Linked DNA regions of Homo sapiens: region 1 is linked to region 2. Evidence: promoter capture Hi-C in 16 types of primary human blood cells and fetal thymus (Javierre and others, 2016). All regions are on one chromosome and are shown on one strand. Each heading gives the region's core, a stretch centred on a gene start or on the middle of the fragment in contact. The rest is flanking DNA. Distances are from core to core; before and after follow the strand shown.

The links. Contacts are between HindIII fragments. The CHiCAGO score rates a contact against its expected background, and 5 or more counts as called.
Region 1: a fragment that was not itself captured here is called in contact with the fragment with the promoter of KYNU in region 2 in 1 of 17 cell types (monocytes); the score reaches 5.7 in monocytes.

The regions. Positions count from the first base shown.
Region 1 is chr2:143,255,775-143,260,806 of GRCh38, forward strand. The region is part of intron 6 of ARHGAP15 (Rho GTPase activating protein 15); the gene reads left to right. Among named protein-coding and RNA genes, the nearest start is that of ARHGAP15, 130 kb to the left of the region's middle. The HindIII fragment of the contact is 200 bases long and covers 3,325-3,524 here.
Region 2 is chr2:142,874,890-142,880,430 of GRCh38, forward strand. KYNU (kynureninase) reads left to right here and starts at 2,775. Exons shown (of 14, transcript NM_003937.3): 1 at 2,775-2,847. The HindIII fragment of the contact is 4,288 bases long and covers 1-2,850 here.

The DNA.
Region 1 (5,032 bases), core at 2,175-4,674, 380 kb after region 2:
TCACATTCATACATGCATTAGATTTCCAGTAAAGCTGGTTTCACTTTAGAGAATTAAAGTATCTTAAAAGACACGGCATTAAAAATAGACCAGAGTAAGAGAAACATTCACGTCTAACACAGTTGTTTTTTGCCCTACAGCTTGTCCCCAATCATTTCATCTACCTATTAGATATTCATCCAACATTCAGGAGGTGCAGTGGAGAGAACACATGGGTCTGGGGATGTGTGTTCCAATTTGGGCTATGTCAGTTGTAACTTTATGCAGAACTCACAGCAGGATCCTCCTCCAACTTTGTCACACCAAGGAAATAAGAGATGACAGTCCTCACCTCACCTGCCCATCTGTGTTAATACTAAAATGAAGCAATCCTGTATGTTTGTTTGAGAGCAACTACAAAGAAGTGATTTTAATACAAATACAGCAGACTTTCATTATTCATCTACTAACCACATCATCTCACAATGTTTTGAGGGAAATTCCAGATATGAATTTTAGAAGAATAGGGTTGAGAGAGGTAAATATCTGTGAAATGTAACTCAAAATTTCTGCTCTACTTCTGGTCTTTCTGTTGCCTTCTGAACTTAATAGACTGATATTTAATACACAACATGAAAATCTTTTTATTGTGTGACTAAGAATATAGATCCTTAATCTTATTTTTAATGTGCTATTCTTAGTGGCATTAATGTAATATCCAATTAATTAATCAATGACATATTCAAATTAATACTTAAAAGCATATCACCTTGAAAGCCCTACCAAGCTGTTAATAGAAACTTGCAAAAGGTAACATAGAAACAAGTGTAGCAACTATGCCCCAAGTGAAAGAGGGACAATAGTGACACTTATTACTCCCCTACTGAGGTATCAGTACAATACTGTTTTTCTGATTGAAGGGAAAGAGATATGATTATTTGTATGATGTTTAGCTTCACTTTTGTTGATGCGGTCACACAGATTTTGCACAGAGGGAGGCATAAAATTTTATAATTAGAGATTTGATTTAAGAATATGAATGTCAGGGGTATATAAAGATTGAGTGCAAATGATAGAATCTGGGGACAGGAAATAAAATTGATTGTAAGAATCTAGATGAGATCAAGAGAGCATGTTAGCTTTGACTGATGAAAGGAGAAACAGAAACAAGAAGATGGATGGAAAGTACATTCTGCAAATGAAGAACATGCCTATTGGTTCAGATAATGTGACTTGGGAACCACTGTCTTTTTGCACGTTTAATTTTCTAAGAAATAATAAAACTTTTTTAAAAAATATATTCTAGACATCTAGAATTAAGATTTATAAACTAAGTGTATCGTTAGGGAAAACAACACGAACTTTATGTTGCCTGGGTGATCCCGTGAAACTCACTAGTCAAAGCCTTAGACATCAAGGATGTATGCTCATTTGCACACCTTCATTGTTTCATTACTAGAGGGCATAATGCTGCCTTACTAGATTCATTCTTTTTGAACTATCAAAGCAGCATGCAACCGGATGACAGTAAAGATTGAAAATAGTAGTATTAGTACATTTTGGTCCCCAATTAGTGAAGGGAACCAAAATTTTGTAATTCCAAAATAACATAAAACAAAAGAAAAAAGTCAACTTGGCTTCTTCTGTTTCTAACATTTCAGCAGAAGAATGGATGCACGTCATCTAATGAACTTAGACAACTGGATAGCTCACTTCACATTGCCTTCTGGAATAGCTGGCTATGTGAGCTCAAAGATATGAGTTGTGCAGTTGGAATAAATTCTGGGTTTTAGTCTGACACCAGGCTAAATGCACCATGCTGTTCTTCATTTACCGACATCATATTGTGAATCCCTTCCTCTCATGGAACATATTCTGTTTCTTGATGATTTGGTAGAGCTAGTGTGGTAGTCTCTATGCCATCCATGGGCTCCTGTGGCTTGCAACGCACTTTCTCTGTTTTCCCATAAGCAGAATGAGACTAACTGAGCCACATGGAGATCAAACCTGAGACTTGACACGATGCACTCCAACCTGGGCAAAAGAAACCACTGCCACTGGGGAATTTTATGGAGTAAGGTAGAATCAACAAGTGTATGGTTTTTCTACTTGTTATTTTAATCTCATTTATAAAGTATAGAAAATATATTGATGCTAGCAAGACAATATTCAAGCCAAGGGATCCTTTTTCATATCTGTTTCAATATCTTTTATTTTTAAAGAGAGCAGCCATGTGTATTTCATGCTGTGTATGATTTTTAATAGCAAACAGACCTATTCCAGAAAAAGGAACAATTTAATCCCTAAAGCTGGTACATAATAGATGGGGCCAGTAAATGGTATCACATTTTACAGCTTGTCCATAAGGATGACACAGGATGAAATAAAATTGAGTGCTTTTGGATAGCATAGGATCACTGGCTGATAAATAGATGACGCTATTCAGTTTTTAGAAACATAAGGTAATGAAGCTGGATCTGAAAGCAAGAGAAAAAATACATATATATATATATGTATTCAGTGTTTATATGCCACAAGCCACTGAGCAGGAGGAAAATCTGGGCAGCGGTGAGCAAAGCTGAAACCTCAGAGCAATGTTTAAAGCAATATAAGAAAATAACAAAGCAAGCATCCATAAACAAAGGCTTGAAATGCACAGAAAAATAAGTTCAAGATGAAAGGAAAATGCCCACACTTATGCATAACTGGAAAGGCCACTTATGGCATCTATGCATAGAGTCTCTCAATGTAAGAGTTAAACATACTACTAAACATTTAGCAGAAAAAAAATTCAAAAGGATATAAAACACTGCAGGGCAGTTAAGGATTCTTGGTATTTGAAGAGGGGAGGAGGCTGCTCTTTTATCTTAACAAAACAGGATGTTGAGAGGTGGCCTAAGTGAAACAATGAAATGAAATGGTTGATGTTGGGGAGAAATCAGGAAGGAAGCTGTTTGAACTCTTTTCAGATAACACTGATGGGTATGAGATGGCTTAACCAAGGGAGAGGTGTTCACATGGAGGGTTTAGATGCATTTCTTTTTAGTAGAGAGCTATTAGATTCTTGACCTCAGCCTCATCAATTTACCTAACATTGCATTTCCGGCACTGGGAGAAATTCTAACAGTCTCACTTTCTGGGTGAACAAGTGTAAACTAAAAAAATTACAGTGGCAAAATTAACAAATTGCTGAAGCACCTTGAAAACGGAAATACCAATAATGAGGATTCCTTTCCCAAGTAACTTAGAAAGACCTTGATTGTGGTCTTTTTTTTTTTCTTGAAGTTGAATTTTAAGCAATGCTTCATTTTCAAAATTCCCATGCCCTTGATCAAGTAAAAGGCAAGCTTCTGATATTTGAGATCTGCGATAGATTTGAAATCAATTCATGGAAAGGGAGGTTACGAACATACTCTTTTGATGTGTAGGATGTACTGATAGGGGTGGCAGAAAATTATGTGAAACCCTTCTCTTTTGACAGCTATACTGGAACATTTACAACCACAGATGTTATTTGTCCATCAGAAAAGAAAATATTTGTTTCAAGCTTCAGGCATTTTCTACTACAGTATCAATATGAAATTCAACCTCAATTTAATGTTTAATGCATATGAAAATAAATATTTGGAGGGGGCAAATACTAGAAAACAATTGAACCCCACAAAATGTAACTAGCAATATGGAAAAAAATGCTGGCTTCATTACGAGCAAATTTGTCCTTTTACTAAAGTAAGGATTGTTCTATTATTAACATAGGAAATCTTAGATGGACTGCAAAGAATGCTGCATTATTCATAAAAGCATTGCTGCCATCTGGTGGCTACTTGGCATTTCAACACTGGCTTCTCTGATTCGGTTTGACTGGGTGCTCTCGGGAGGTATTTAAAGAAGAGCTTTAAGTGGTAAAATATAAATGTGGACATCCTCTGGCCCTACATGTCATTCATCTGATGGCAGTCCTTTCTCCCTGTCTTGTCGTGGAATGGAGGATTCAGGGAGAGGAAATGAGATACTTGGATATCTTTTGTCCTGAATGTGAAAGTGTATTTTACATGGCTTATCTAAAGAAGTTACTCTTGGCTGTTGTTGACTGATGAATTTTATCGACATTCATTTCTGTTGGCAAATAAATAAGTATATACCCAAATATTAAGAAGGTTTATTGAATCTAAAGATATGCTATTTTGCTTAAATAAGAATATACATGAGATGCTTTAATCCCTCATTTGGATCTAAGCATGAATTTTTTTAAGTTATCAGTCACTGAATTTGACTTTAGAAATAATATAATTTAGAATGTCAAAAAAGAAAATGTACAGAGGTTCATAAATTTCTTCCCATTTATTCAATTGTTATATTAAAATGGGAGGATTGTTAATGACTCAGAAACTCGTAATCCTTCTTCATGAATTTTCAAGTTAAATGACAAATATTATTCAGTTCACATCGCACTTTTTGTTGAAAATAAAATAGTTAAAATTTAAGAAATTTTGATGATTCTCAAGCATCAGTGTATTAACTCATTCTTAACAAGAACCAATTAGAATTAGGATATCTCTGTAATTTTAGTACGGTTTTAAGTTTCCAATAATCGTAGAAAGTCTCCTTGGTATGTAATGAAAACCTTGACCCTTTAAATGGCTATTTATATAGATCACAAGTCTTTGAAGATTATAGGAGATAATGAGTTAAAATTGCCCCAGGAGGAAAGCTGAAGTTTTCTTCTGAATTCTCAGGGATGATATTTAATAGTTAATATTCAGTTTCTAGTGAATATTTCCCTGTATCATTAAACTGCCTTCTGATTTAGTAAAAGTCAGATAACAAAGAACCATTACACTAAATCTGGAGAATTATATACTGAATTAATATTATCCTTTACAAGAAAATGTGGAAATGCCTATATTGAAAGTAAGACTTTTGGGTTTTATTTTTAAATTTGTGGGTAAGATTTTCAATCTGTGAATACATACTTGATATTCCCTTTGTTACTAGCTATTTCTACCACTAAAAATAATTCCTTCTTCAAAATATGTAATTTGGCTTATGGAAG
Region 2 (5,541 bases), core at 1,525-4,024:
AAGAATAAGAATAAAGTTCATGGTTCAAGATTACCTTTTGAGAGGACAAAACTTTCCCATATTTCCAATAATCAATTTTTAGAAAATAAACTAGATCTTAATTAAAAAAAAACAAATTAACCAATTCAGTAGATATTTATTTAGCTCCATACATAGGTAGAGCTCTGAGGAGGATAAAATTAGTCTTTTCCTCTCGGAAACATATCATTTTATAAGCAGGATGCCATACCTGGAAATTAATAGACAACTCGGAATTGTACAACAGCTTATTCTGGCAACACTTTTTTTCTTCCTGTTTCCAAAAGGAAGGAATGGTATCTCACAGTGTTCTCTGTTTAACCTTGACTGCTGGCCCTGTAGCGGGTCTTGCTTTCACCCCTCCCCGCATGACTCGTTCTCTCATAATTCCCTTCTGTATTTAGCGGCCTATGTTATTATACAAGTTTTGCTCCCCATTACATCCCTGGCATTTCACTTTGTGCTTGGTACAGAGAATATGCTTAATACTTTTCTTGAATGAATGAAAGTGTCAACTGAAGAATGACAGGTTCATACATTTGGAAAGGAGAGCTTCATTTCACATAAAGGATTGCAGCCTGCAGGGTGATCATTCTGACCTCTGAAAAGTATAGCCTCTAATCAGAAGCTGGAAACAGACATTTTGAGGGAGGAGCAAAGGAAACAGAAATTTATGTTGAGCAGGGTAGCTGAATATATATATTCAATAAGCTATAGGGGAAGCCATGAATATTTGTGAAAGGAGAAATGTGCACATGCACAATGGAGTTTCATGCTTCTCCATGGGATCCGTGTTCAAAAAATGACAGCATTAATACAATCTGAGGGGGCAGTTTTCAGCCCAATGTGAAGCAGAGGACATGAAAACCTTTACTGCACATTCTCCATAGACTAGCCAGAAACATTCCATGATCAGTATTTTCTTTTTGTTCCAAACCACAAAAGAGAGGGATAACACCAGGTGATGGTTGATGTCATTGGTGTAATCTTTTGAAATGACTGGTTTCTTTTTAGCCATAGGGCAGAAAGCCTAATCATAGTTAGTGATGGAGCGGGTATGTGTTCCACTTCCTATCCTGTCATGGCCAAAAACTTAGTTTTCAAGTTTACTCTGGGATCCCCTTGGCCAAGAGCGTGTCCGTTCAGTTAATCTAGGGGCTTGGGATTTTATTTTTATTCCTCAAATGTAACAAATTTAAAGAAAGAAAGAAATTTATAAAACATAAGAAATAGAAGTATAGCTTAGACCTCCAAGCAAGTTCTTTAAAGGTGACAAGTTAAACAGTAGTTTTTAAGATAATATTTTGATGAAATTTTTAATCATATTATTACAAGATTTTAGAAGAAGCAAGATCTTGTGAAAACAAAACCTTAATGTCCATATCTAGCTCTCTAAATCTATAGTCAGTCTTTAAAAGAGTGACACAAAAATGACACAGATCCGCCCTCTGGTTCGCTCCCCATATATTAGAGCCTGGTAATCTTCCAAAGTTTTTACAGCATGAGGCATACACAGAATAGATGCAAAAAAAGTACACCTTCTGAAATTTCCTGAATGGATTCAAACTTTTACTATTCTAAGTTAATCAATTGGTAGTCTACTTACTTTATAGGATTATTGTAAGGATAGGATCAATGAAGTGAAATATATTTTATTTTCACTGGTCAATTACTCGTATTAAAGCAATTTCATGCACTTTATCTCCCTCTCTTGGAAACTGGAGAGTAGTACTTTTTGTCTGGTTACTTAAGATTAAAAAAAAGACAATATGTCACTTTTGACTTGAGTGTCATGGTATCTATGGCCTTCAACCTGCATGGTTTTATCGTTTCAGTAATCTTGGGAGGAAGGTATTATTAAGTTCATTTGATAAATAGGAGACTGAGCCTCCACAAGGGTTAAGTGAATTGCTCAGGGTTATACAATGAACACTTGATAGAAATGATTAAATGACACTTTACTTGATTTGTTGTGGGTTACTAAATAAAGCATAGGTGTGCATAAGTCATTCAATTATTCAAGCACATTCTTCATCCCTAGTCCTAATATCGAAAGTCTTTGCTCTTAGTTTTTATAACTACAAGGATATTCATCAAAAGACCCAAGCTCAGGAATAAGCCTAAAGAGGTAGTCAGACTAGAACAAAAGACAATTCACAGACTTAAATGAATAATTTGCATTAATGAAGTTTGCCAGGCTAGTTTCCACTTGAATCTTCAGATCTTTCTTCCTTCATTGTCTTGTTAACTGTCCAGATTTATTACCTAGGAGTTTTTGAAAACTCACATATTAGGCAATAGAGTGTATTCTGGAATTGAGAGCCTATTTTAAACTTTTGACTAAAAAGTTTACCCATTAAATGTCATAGATTCAACCATCAGACTGAAAATCCTCAGTGTATTTGAAGGAGGGTATTGTCTCAAAAATCCAGAGCTCAAAGTGAAGAAGAAAGGCAAAATTTGGAATTTAGCTCTAAGACCAACTCATCAGTTCAGGGGTCAGAGATTTATATAGTTAAAGGACAAGTGTGTGTTTACCTGAGTTTAAAGAGCAAAGTTGCCTCTGGAAAGAAGCCCTCACTGGAGGCTCTGGCATTTGAAATGGTGGGCAGGAGCACATGTTGCTTAAATTTCTGACAGTGGCTGGAGATTACCGATTGGTTAGGGGAGAGGAAGTAAAGTAAAATATTTATAAATTCTCCACTGGGTGGAGTCTGAGCAGTTCTTTGAATTTCTCACCCTAAGATCTGGCCTGTACATTTTCAAGGAATTCTTGAGAGGTTCTTGGAGAGATTCTGGGAGCCAAACACTCCATTGGGATCCTAGCTGGTAAGCTTGAGGCGCTGATAAAAACTCTCTACCCTAATGTTTACTCCATGTTTTTTCCAAATGAAACTTCTGTCAGCTAGAATCCTTGTCATAGTGTTTTAGAGGTTTTTTTCTGCTACTCTCTTCTTTTTTTATATATATTCTTTTTGTAAATAAAAATGGTATGACCTTCCTAAAGGCCCCACCTTTAGAAATGGGTTAAATGAAAAGATCTTTACTAATGTAATAGAAAAGAACTGATGAACATAGTGCACTGAATATGGTTACATTTGACAAACCAAAGTTAGTCCTGTTCTTATTTGAGTTTAAGCGGTAAGATTAGGTCAAACTCCAGACGAGGGAAAGATATTCTTAAACAGATTTTAAGTCCTCTGTTTTCTGGTAACTTTAATTGTCTTATGCTGCTAGTAGTCATATTAAATATTTATTTAGAGAAGTGAAAATGCCTACTCTTGAACAGAGTTTCTTCCCCTTTCATTTTATGAAACCTAAGAAAAGAAAGTTGATACACTTTTTAAAAATATACTAGATTTTCTTTTTTCCTTTCTGCTTTTATTTTGAGGCCAGTGGGGTGTTATTTAGTAGTAACACTGAAGCAAATGTATTGATTTTCTTAACGTGTTCAGCAAGTAATTCATATCCTAGATATGAAATATACACTCGTAGCAGAGTAATGTTACCCATTTCTCAATGATATGCTTAAAGAATCTTGCTCAATATGCATATTGTTTTTCCTTTTTTCTTTACTAATGAAAAACTACACGCTTTCTCAACATATTTTTAAGTCAGGTTCTAAACTTTGAACTCCTATGTACAATTTGCTTATTTCAGGCATGAATGTGAAACTGTGTAAAGATTAACTACCAGACACTCAGTCATTTATTTAACTATTTAGCCCTAAATCAGTGGGTGACTAGGAGATTCTGAATTCTGTGATTTCGTTAAAATCAATCAGTTTTTAATTATTATACAAGCTTTTTACTTTAAAGTTGTAGCTGTCTAAATAAAATTGTGAAAGCACAATTTCCAAACCTAAATCGAAGGCACATTGATGCTGTCCATCAGAAGGTATTGATAATTTAAAAAAATATTACAAACTATCTTTTATCTTTTTATAAAGGACCTAATGTCATTTGAGCTTAACCATAATCCTTTGAAGAAAGTAAAATTTAACTTTAAATAACATTGACATACAGAGCAGTTAGGTGATTTGTCTGAGACCATATGGTATGTATGTCCCCCGTCTTGATAAAATTAACACTAAATATGTAACATTTGAAAATTTGTAAAATATGTAAAAGTTGAAGTTTTTAAAAGTTTGGATTTAAGTTCTTCCTTTCAGAATATGAGCATGTCACTTTATTTGCAAACTAAACATGGCATAACATTATGGCTTGTGAACACTAATTGTCTTAGCTGCTGGGGTGAATGCAGAATTAAGCAGCAATTAGTATGAGTGAATAAATTGCATCCTTAGAGTGAGTGCACTATGCTATTCTGGGAACTAAAGACTATATTTGAGACCATGCGAAGTTGTGCAAGTGGTGGAGTAGGGCAGGGTGCAGTCATTTGGAAGACTATGCCCATCAGGTATCTCAAGGTACCCCAGATGTGACAGGCCCAGGAGCGGAACCAGCCACTTTAACTTTTGCCTGGCTGAAACTGGACTGGGAAGGATGGATTAAAAAGGTAAATCAATTCATACGTAGCTTGTGGTCCTTTGCAGCTTAAGTGTAGGACTGAAAAAAGAAGCCAAAGAAAAAGGGAATGAGCTGAAGAAATACACACACGTACACACACACATCAGGAAGCAACAGGCAAGGAAAAATAAAGTGAGAGGTTCAAGGCTTCGAGGAGGAATTGAGCTCTGTGCATTCCATTCATGGGCTTTGCCAAAGACCAGCACAATGGACTCAGCATCTCAGGCATGGTTAAGTACCCTACTGTGCACTCTGCTATCCTTTTAGTCCACTGGTTTCTACTCTGTCTGTGCCAGGTTTTCATCTCAATATAGAGGAAAAGGATTCTGATGCCTCAGGATTATTACAAGCATTAAATAAGATACAGATAGAATGACGCTAATGAGTATCATTTTTAAAATAAGGAAAGTTGAATTTTATTCAGAATCTGTTGGTAACAAACTAATCTCTTTATTTAAGTAACCCCACTTAGAGTTTAAAGTCACCTCCAATCAACTCAAAGGGCTGACCTCCCAAAGAAAGTCTCAAATATAAGGCAAGCTCTCTTGATTCTGAATTTCATTAGAAATGTTTGTCTAAGTCTTTCTCATATGGTCAGAATGAGAGAGGGTGCCCTTCTAGTAATATGTCATTATGTCAAATAATTCATCAACCAATTTTGTTTATTCTCTCGAACTGCCACTTTGGCGGCAGGGGTACTCTGTCTAAATGAGATGTCTATAAAGATAAATTAAACATGATTCAGGCCCCCAGGTAGAGTTCAGTTCAGTAGGGTAGAACAGCAACTCAGTCCAGCTACCATCAGTAATATGTTTGTAGTAAGACTAATCTGATAGTAAGGCAGAAAAACATCTCATGGAATTTTAGGAATAGCCAAGAAGATGGGTCCCCTGGAGACTTGCACATAGCATGTTGCATGAAGGATTCAGTGACTTGCAAGATGGGCTTGTCTTGTCACCTTTTCAGGAGACATAGCTGTTCAATCCCTTGCCAT